2 separate regions of the Homo sapiens genome follow, and region 1 is linked to region 2. The links are contacts of gene promoters, found by promoter capture Hi-C in blood cells and fetal thymus (Javierre and others, 2016). All regions are on one chromosome and are shown on one strand. The core of a region is centred on a gene start or on the middle of the fragment in contact, and the rest is flanking DNA. Distances in the headings are between cores, read along the strand shown. Region 1 overlaps USP16 (ubiquitin specific peptidase 16). Region 2 holds the start of BACH1-IT2 (BACH1 intronic transcript 2).

Region 1 (4,343 bases), core at 1,079-3,578, 320 kb after region 2:
ATATTTAAATAAACATGATTTCTTCTGGCATGTATTTAATGTTAAGTGAACATGATTTTAATTAGTCTTTTTTTATCGTTATTTCAGCCATTATAAAAGCCATAAATGTGTTTCCAGAAAAAGTGCTTTTGATATTATTACAGTATTCTCTCATAAAATAGGAGGTACGCTTGTGAGTTTAGTACTTTAGTTGTAGGCACAGCTTGCACATGTGTGTCGCTGATGTGAAACCACTGCCCTTTTGATTCCATTTCAAAATCTGTCATGAGAAAATGAAAAATCAAACATAAATGGAAAGATTCAAGTTGATTACTTTTTGGTTTTGCCGTAATCTGCTGAGTGCCTGAATTTTCCAAGACATCTTACCTTGTGGAATATCACCGTGAAGAACAAGATTAGAGAGATGACTATTTGCGGTTCTTGCCTTGGCATAGGCAGTGTAATGCCCCGACCTCATAGTACCACTGTGTTCAACAACTCCATATAAGGAATAGAGTACCCTTGTATTTTCTTCTGCAACATTCTTTAAAAATGAGTAGAATCCAAAAGTTAGTTCTAGTTCCATTTACACAGATGTCATGGGCAAGACAAGTTTACACTATGCAAAGGGTCTTTAACCATTACTTTGAGAGTGCAGAAATCATTCATGAGTCTACTCTTTTCTCCATACCTCTTCTCAGCCTGAGACACTTCTGTTTTTATTATAAATTCACCATTGTTCCCCTGGTAGAAAAGCTGTAAGCCACAGGCCACTTGATGCAGTTACCTGGCTCAGATACCAAATAACTGAATTCAACTTGCCAGTTTCTTTAGGAGCCTGAGGATAATTCTTAACAACCCTAGCTATTAACAACTCTGAATACCCTGTTTAAAAAAAGGTAAGCCCTGAACAGGAAGAGAACAGTATTTTAGGTTGTGCCAAAAATTACCCCTTACATCTTTAAATGTCCCCAAGGGAGTTGGTGAGAAGCACATTCAACCTCTCAAGTGTTCACTTTCCCCACGAGAGAGTGCACGCTGCTTATTCTTTCAGGACTCTATATGCCATAGGGCTGGCAACAGGAACAGGCATTCTCTGGGCCAGGAGCCACTTTTCAGACAACTATTTATGTTCTCATGTAAAAGTCCGTAACAGGCATCACGGCCCTTCAGTAGTACTGTCTCCTATACTCAGCTTCCCAATCTGTGCCTCCATATTCACTGAAGAACTTAGTACTTCTCCGTCCATCTATGATTCTCACAGGACTTTAAATGCCATTCCATTTTAGTCAACCACACCCAGGACTAGAGTCTGGGCTTGTCATCACTCAGAATTGTTCAACTTCATAAAATTTTTTTTGAGACAGGGTCTCACTCCGTCACCCAGGCTGGAGTGCAGTGGCATGATCTCAGCTCAATGCAACCTCTGCCTCCTGGGCTCAAGTGATCCTCCCGCCTCAGCCTCTGGAATAGCTGGGACTACAGGTGCACACCACCATGACCTGCTAAATTAATTTTTTGTAGAGATGGGGTTTCAGCATGTTGCCTGGGCTGGTCTCAAACTCCTGAGCTGAAGGGACATAAATCTTATTTTTAGTCTTAGTCCACAAGTCTTCTATTTATTCAACTCTCATCTCACCTATTCTGTACTCTTTAACCTAACAGGATCTCCAATGCTCATATTCTCCTCACCTATGAAGACTTTTGGCTTCATTCCTGATATGGTTTGGCTGTGTCCCTACCCAAATCTCATCTTGAGTTGTAGCTCCCACAATTCCCACATGTCATGGGAGGGTACCCGTTGGGACGCAACTGAATCATGGGAGCAGGTCTTTCCCATCCTTATTCTTGATAGTGAATAAGCCTCATGAGAGCTGATGGTTTCTTAAGGGGGAGTTTCCCTCCACAAGCTCTTGCTTTGCCCGCTGCCATCCATGTAAGATGTGACGTGCTCCTCCTTGCCTTCCGCCATGACTGTGAGGCCTCCCCAGCCATGTGGAACTGTAAACCTCTTTCTTTTGTAAATTGCCCAGTCTTGCCCAGTATATCTTGTCCAGTATATCTTTATCAGCAGCATGGAAACTGACATAATATAATTCCCATATGCAGTCTAGACCATTGCTATTCAAAATGTGGTCCATGAACAGCCAGCATCAGCATCACCTGAGAGTTTACATTAAACATGCAGAATTTTTGATCCCATACTAGACCTACAGAATCAAAATTTGTAGGTCTGATTCCCACATACACATTAAAGTTTGGGAACTTCAATCACATGTATCACTTACAAATAATCTCCTCCATATCCAATTCATCACAAAACCTCACCCTGAATCCTATAATGTACCTGCCATGCCCCAAACCCAGATGGCCACTACTGCCAAGAAACAAAAGTATAATAAATGATCATGTACCTTGTCATAGTCCTCAATGTGACCATAATCTTATAAATTGTCCTTAGCGGCCTCTTCCATTATGCCCATCACAGCAACTGGCCCAGACTTTTTTTTTTTTTTGAGGGAGTTTCTTGCTCTGTCACCTAGGCAGGAGTGCAGTGACGCAATCTCGGCTCACTGCAGCTCTGCCTCCCAGGTTCCAGCAATTCTCCTGCCTCAGCCTCCCGAGTAGCTGGGATTACAGGCGCACACCACCATGCCTGGCTAATTTTTGTATTTTCAGTAGAGACAGGGTTTCACCATGCTGGCCAGGCTGGTCTCGAACTCCTCACCTCAAGTGATCCACCCGCCTCGGCCTCCCAAAGTGTTGGCATTACAGGCGTAAGCCACCACGCCCAGCCCCAAATTCTTCAACATGGAGATTCTTTGAGATCCTTTGTGGTGTCCTCACTTTCTACCCCTGCCTCTTCCACTCAGATACTTAGGAGGGTCCTGTCATTGGCCATCTCCTTTTTCTCTCTTCAGACTCTATACACAAGGGATCCCATCTTCTCATAGTTTAAACTGCCACATATGTACTGATTTCTAAATCTGTGCCCTGGGCCCATCCTAACCTCTCTGCTATAGGTCTCAGATATGTATATCCAAATGTTTTCTAGACTAAGCACATTAATTTCTCAAAGGTATCTGACACTCAAATGTATCTAAAACTGAAGTCATTATCCTTTCTCTACCTGCTTTTCTCAACCTGCTTTTCTCCCTATATATCCTATCTCAATTTACAGCACTCCCATCTGTCGTGCCAGGCCTCAGGAATCATCCTCAACCCTTTCTCTGCCACCCTCAGCATCCACTTATAAAAGGCCTCTGCCTCACCTTACAGTGCCAATCAATCATTAAGTCTGGTTAATTCTACCTCCTGAAATATTCCTTCTATCTCCCCATCTCCTGCCCAACTTTAAGCCCTCATCAACTACTGGCTGAATTAATACAACAGCCTCCAAACTCACTTCCCCACCTCTAGTCTTTCCGTCCTAAAATTCAGCCTTCATACATCAACAAGTAACCTACGTCATATGAAGATCTGACCATGCCACCCCAGTGCTTTAAACTCCTCAGGGCTCCCCACTGTATACCTAATGAAGTCCAAGTTCCTCACCATGAGAACCCTCCAAAACTTCATTCCTATCTCACTTCTCTGGCTTCATTTCTCAACTCTCCCTATAACCTTGTACTATAAACTCTAGAACTACATACGTTACCAGTCTCTGGCAATCACCATCCTATTTTACACTGCTGTTTTTACTCCTGCTGTTCCTTCTGCCTGCAAAACTCATTTCATCTTGATTCATCATACTTTTACTCCTTCTTTAAATATAGTTGAGGCATGGTTTACTTTACAAAGCCATTCCTGAACCACCAACATGCTGGGTTAAGTGTATACCACTCCTGACCTATGTTCACCAGCCTTAACATTCAACCACATTAAACAGATTATTCATTAATAGATCTGCTCACCTTTAGTTTTATGCCCTCCGCTCACAAGACAATGTATGCCATAATAAAGGGGATTCCAAACGTTGAACTGAAATAACCCATTCTTCAAAATGATTCATCACTAATCTTCAAATTATAAAGGTACAATGATCAAAGACCCACTCTACTCAATAAGTGTTATCAACTTCATACTTAAGTGAGTTGCTACTGGAGCATTAGGTAAGCCACAATTTGACTTTAAAGGACTTTCCTGAAAAAGACCACTTTGACTTACCTTACATTTAAGGGTGCAAAAAGGAGCCAAATCTAAGATTTCCGGAAACTTTATGTGTTTGTTAACTTTGCGTAGGTTAAAACCAGCCTAAAAGAGAAGCATAACAGATTGACTTCTTTTCTTGGAAAAGCAATACAGGTTAAGTAAACCGAAGTCCCCTCCGACGTCCAAAAGAATATCAACATTAAGTCCTAGTT
Region 2 (3,886 bases), core at 1,197-3,696:
GACGGCAGGCTGTGACCCGGAAGAGGGTCCTCATCAGCATCCGACCATGCTCACATCCTAATCTTGGAACTATGAGAAATAAATTTCTGTAATTTCTAAGCCACACAATCTATGGTACTTTGTTATAGCAGCCCAAACTGACTCAGACCCTCAGAAAAGGCTGATGGGGAAAAACCATCCTGGAAAGTAAATAGTCAAGAGGACCTTGTAAGAGCAGACATGAGAAAACTCCCCACCCCAGTAGATTCACTAGAGACGCAGCTCTCAACTCCTTGTACCAAGACCCATAGGAATGATACACTTTACATCATACCCCTATAAACATGTACATGTGTAATTGATTAAAGTTTCATAAAGTAATATTTACTCACTATGTGCAATGCACATTGATATTTCATATTCTGTTCTGTTTTTTAAATGCTGGCCACAACCCCACACAAATTGATTTCTAGACCTTAATAGTCTCTAATCAGCAGTGTAAACAACTCTCATTAGAGGGAGAGAACCCTTAAGAGGAAGGGGAAACCTTGGGTTTCACAGGCATGAACAGCAGTGTTTCTTCTCTCTGAGATATGCCTCCCATACCCACAGCCCCTTTTTTTTCATCATACTGGGATCCTATATTCCTGATTGCCTACTTTCCAGGTGAGTTATCTCCTCTGGAGTTCCCACCTCTCTACTGGATCTCTTATGTAACCACCTGATATGGTTTGGCTGTGTCCCCACCCAAATCTCATCTTGAATTGTAGCTCCCATAATTCCCATGTGTTGTGGGAGGGACCCGGTGAAAGAAAATTGAATCGGTTTCCCCCATACTGTTCTCAAGGTAGTGAATAAGTCTCACAAGATCTGACAGTTTCGTAAGGGGTTTCCCCCTTTCCTTGGCTCTCATTCTCTCTTGCCTGCTGCCATGTAAGATGTGCCTTTCACCTTCTGCCATGATTGTGAAGCCTCCCCAGCCTCATGGAACTGTGAGTCCATTAAACCTCTTCTTTCTTTATAAATTACCCACTCTCAGGTATGTTTTTATCAGCAGTTTGAAAACAGACTAATACACTATCCTCAATGCCTTTCTAATTCTACCCATTGTACATGGATTGGACTCCTCAATGCCAACTCCATTCATGAAATACTTTCCAAGCCCTTTCATACCCAGCATGTACAAATTGTCCCCAGCACCTTCTTAACAAGTATGTCTGAATAACAGAAAACTACAATAATAATGCATGTCAGAATTATATGATGTAAAGATGTGTCTGTCACTGCTACCAGCTCTATCTATACCTCTTTCTCTGTAATCCTTATAACCATCTGACACATTAGGTCACATAGCTATTTAGCGGTGGACTTGAGCTTCGAATCCAGGTGTTCTTGGGAAACTTGCAGATCATAGAGAAGCATGAACACAAAGAATAAGTGTGGCCTTCCAGTGGTGGGGGCAGGGTGTCATGAGACACAGAGCAGTGGTAGGTCTTATGCAGAGCCTCTTTAGGGTTTTACACCACTGGTAGAAGAATCTGTCTCTAGACCGAAGAGTTCAAACCGAGAGACTTCTTGCTTTCTCACAAAGACAGGCTTCTGGCCATTTAGCTGCTGGGCTTTTCATCAGCCTTGAGGAATGAGAGACCTTTGTGGAGCTCTTGTTTCTAGGCGTGAGAGCAGGGGAGAGGCTGAAAAGCATCTGACATTCCTGGCGTCCCATTCTCTAGACAAGAGGGGACACTCATAAGGGCCTAAATACCTGTCCAAAGGCTTCAGTCACAATCCCTACTCTGTAAGGAAAATCTTGGCATCATTTCATCCCATACAACTAAGAAGAAAGATATATATCATGATAGCATATGGATGTGTTAACCATCTTCCCCCATTTTCACGTTTTAAGAATTTTAGGGCCGTGCATGGTGGCTCACGCCTGTAATCCCAGCACTTTGGGAGGCTAAGGCTGGCAGATCACAAGGTCAGGAGATCGAAACCATCCTGGCCAACATGGTGAAACCCCCGTCTCTACTAAAATACAAAAAATGAGCCAGGCGAGGTGGTGTGCGCTTGTAGTCCCAGCTACTCGGGAGGCTGAGACAAGGGAATTGCTTGAACCCAGGAGGCAAAGGTTGCAGTGAGCCAAGATCATGCCACTGCACTCCAGCCTGGCGACAGAGCAAGACTCTGTCTCCAAAAAAAAAAAAAAAAATTTTAGGTCTGGGGTGAGTTGGAGTATTGCTGAGGAGAACCTTTCTCAAGGGCAGGGCTCTCGGAGATCATGTTCTCATGGGTCCCCGGGACCGGTCCTCAGGCTCGCTAGTTTAAGGTGAGTGGAGTGGTCTCTAGGAGCAGAGCATGATAACAACGCTAGGTCACTCATTTACAACGGACTGTAATAAACTACCTTTTTCCTTCCACCAGGGGGCACCATTCACATAGACTTCAACAGCAGTGGCATCAACAGGCCTACAAAGTGGTGGTGGTAAAAAACACACTTGAGACCATCATATGTATCTGAAATCAGATACGATACCTGAAAAACATAAATCAAATTAATGCTCATATGGTTGCTTGCTGTCCAAGGAATTCAAAGCAAAGGTGGAAACTGACCCTTACATCACTTCTTCCTTCTAGATGAATAGCATCAGCTACATTTTCTTTCCCATTATGTAATGTTTCTATTCTGACCACCCACCTGTGATGGACATAGTCTTTTTAGATGTGTTAGTTTTAATATTAGTCAAGACTTAGTCTCAACCGTTCTCTATTAAGTGACTTTGCAGATATCTGATGTCATCTCCATTAATGCAGATTTTCATGTCAGATTCAGCTCTGAGTTCACCTTAATGCGGTGGTGGTTCCCATAGTGTAGTGCCCAGGCCCCCGCATCAACATCACTTGGGAACTTGTTAGAAAGGCAAGTTCCTGGTTCCCAACTCAGACCTACCTACCAAGTCAGAAATCTAAGTGTGGGGCCTGCAATCTGTGTTTTTACAAGCCTAACAGGGGATACTAATGCATGCTAAAGTTTGAGAACCACTGACTTAATATACAGTTTCCAACCCGGATGACACTAGAAACAACTACGGGACTTTACAAAAATATGGGTGTCCTGGCTTCCCCCAGAGCCACTAGGGTAGTGGAAACAAATGTCACTATCAAATGGATCTGGGTTTGAATTCTGGTTTTGTCACTCACCAGCTATGTGCCTTGTGGAGGCTCCATCTTCTCATCTGTAAAGTAAAAGTCATCGGACCTGCCTTGTAGGAAGGTGTAGGAGGGGAAGGTTCAGCAAATGCCTCATAGAGAGATTGACTCATAGTACATCTTCTTCCTTGGCCTCCACCGCAACTAGAATCTTATTCACCCGGCCTGTGAGGGTACAGTTCTCACCTTGCCCCAGAATCACCAGGTGAGAATGATTTGCTAGACCCGCTTTCTGAAGTTTCACAAATGGACAAACATTTTCACAGCTGTTACTGGGATTTTGCCATAAATCAGCAGGAACACACCCGAGATCTGACAAAGCTATTTCAAACTCTAGATCAATGAGGAGGGAAGTTGCTATGAAGCCGGGTTTGCCAACTGAGAGCATTGTAATTGTTCGAGTTGCTCTTGGGATCTAGCTCAGATTCCTGCTGACACCAGAGAAGTGAAGAATGAAAATAGTTGCCTAGAAAATCAGAAGCAGCTCCCCAAGTTACCTGCCACATACAGGTTTGTTTTTCCTTAATTATCTAGGTAATTGCTTTGCTTCCTCTACCTGCCTTTACCAAGAGATGCCTGGCCAGAAGAGCGAGGAATTAAAGTACCTGTGGAGGCTGCCCACCGAGTGAAGCTGCAGGCTGCCCATCCCATCGCAGTAGCTCCTTAGTTGTCAGTAGGTTGTTTCTATGAATGCCCCCTC

Evidence for each region. Contacts are between HindIII fragments. The CHiCAGO score rates a contact against its expected background, and 5 or more counts as called.
Region 1: a fragment that was not itself captured here is called in contact with the fragment with the promoter of BACH1-IT2 in region 2 in 4 of 17 cell types (neutrophils, total B cells, monocytes and 1 more); the score reaches 21.9 in neutrophils.

What each region holds. Positions count from the first base shown.
Region 1 is chr21:29,049,982-29,054,324 of GRCh38, reverse strand. It overlaps USP16 (ubiquitin specific peptidase 16), which reads right to left. Exons shown (of 18, transcript NM_006447.3): 16 at 4,147-4,233; 17 at 367-523; 18 at 1-259. The coding sequence ends at 138. Among named protein-coding and RNA genes, the nearest start is that of CCT8, 21 kb to the left of the region's middle. The HindIII fragment of the contact is 5,164 bases long and covers 1-4,343 here.
Region 2 is chr21:29,371,061-29,374,946 of GRCh38, reverse strand. BACH1-IT2 (BACH1 intronic transcript 2) reads right to left here and starts at 2,446. Exons shown (of 2, transcript NR_046564.2): 1 at 2,384-2,446; 2 at 967-1,705. The HindIII fragment of the contact is 7,280 bases long and covers 1-3,886 here.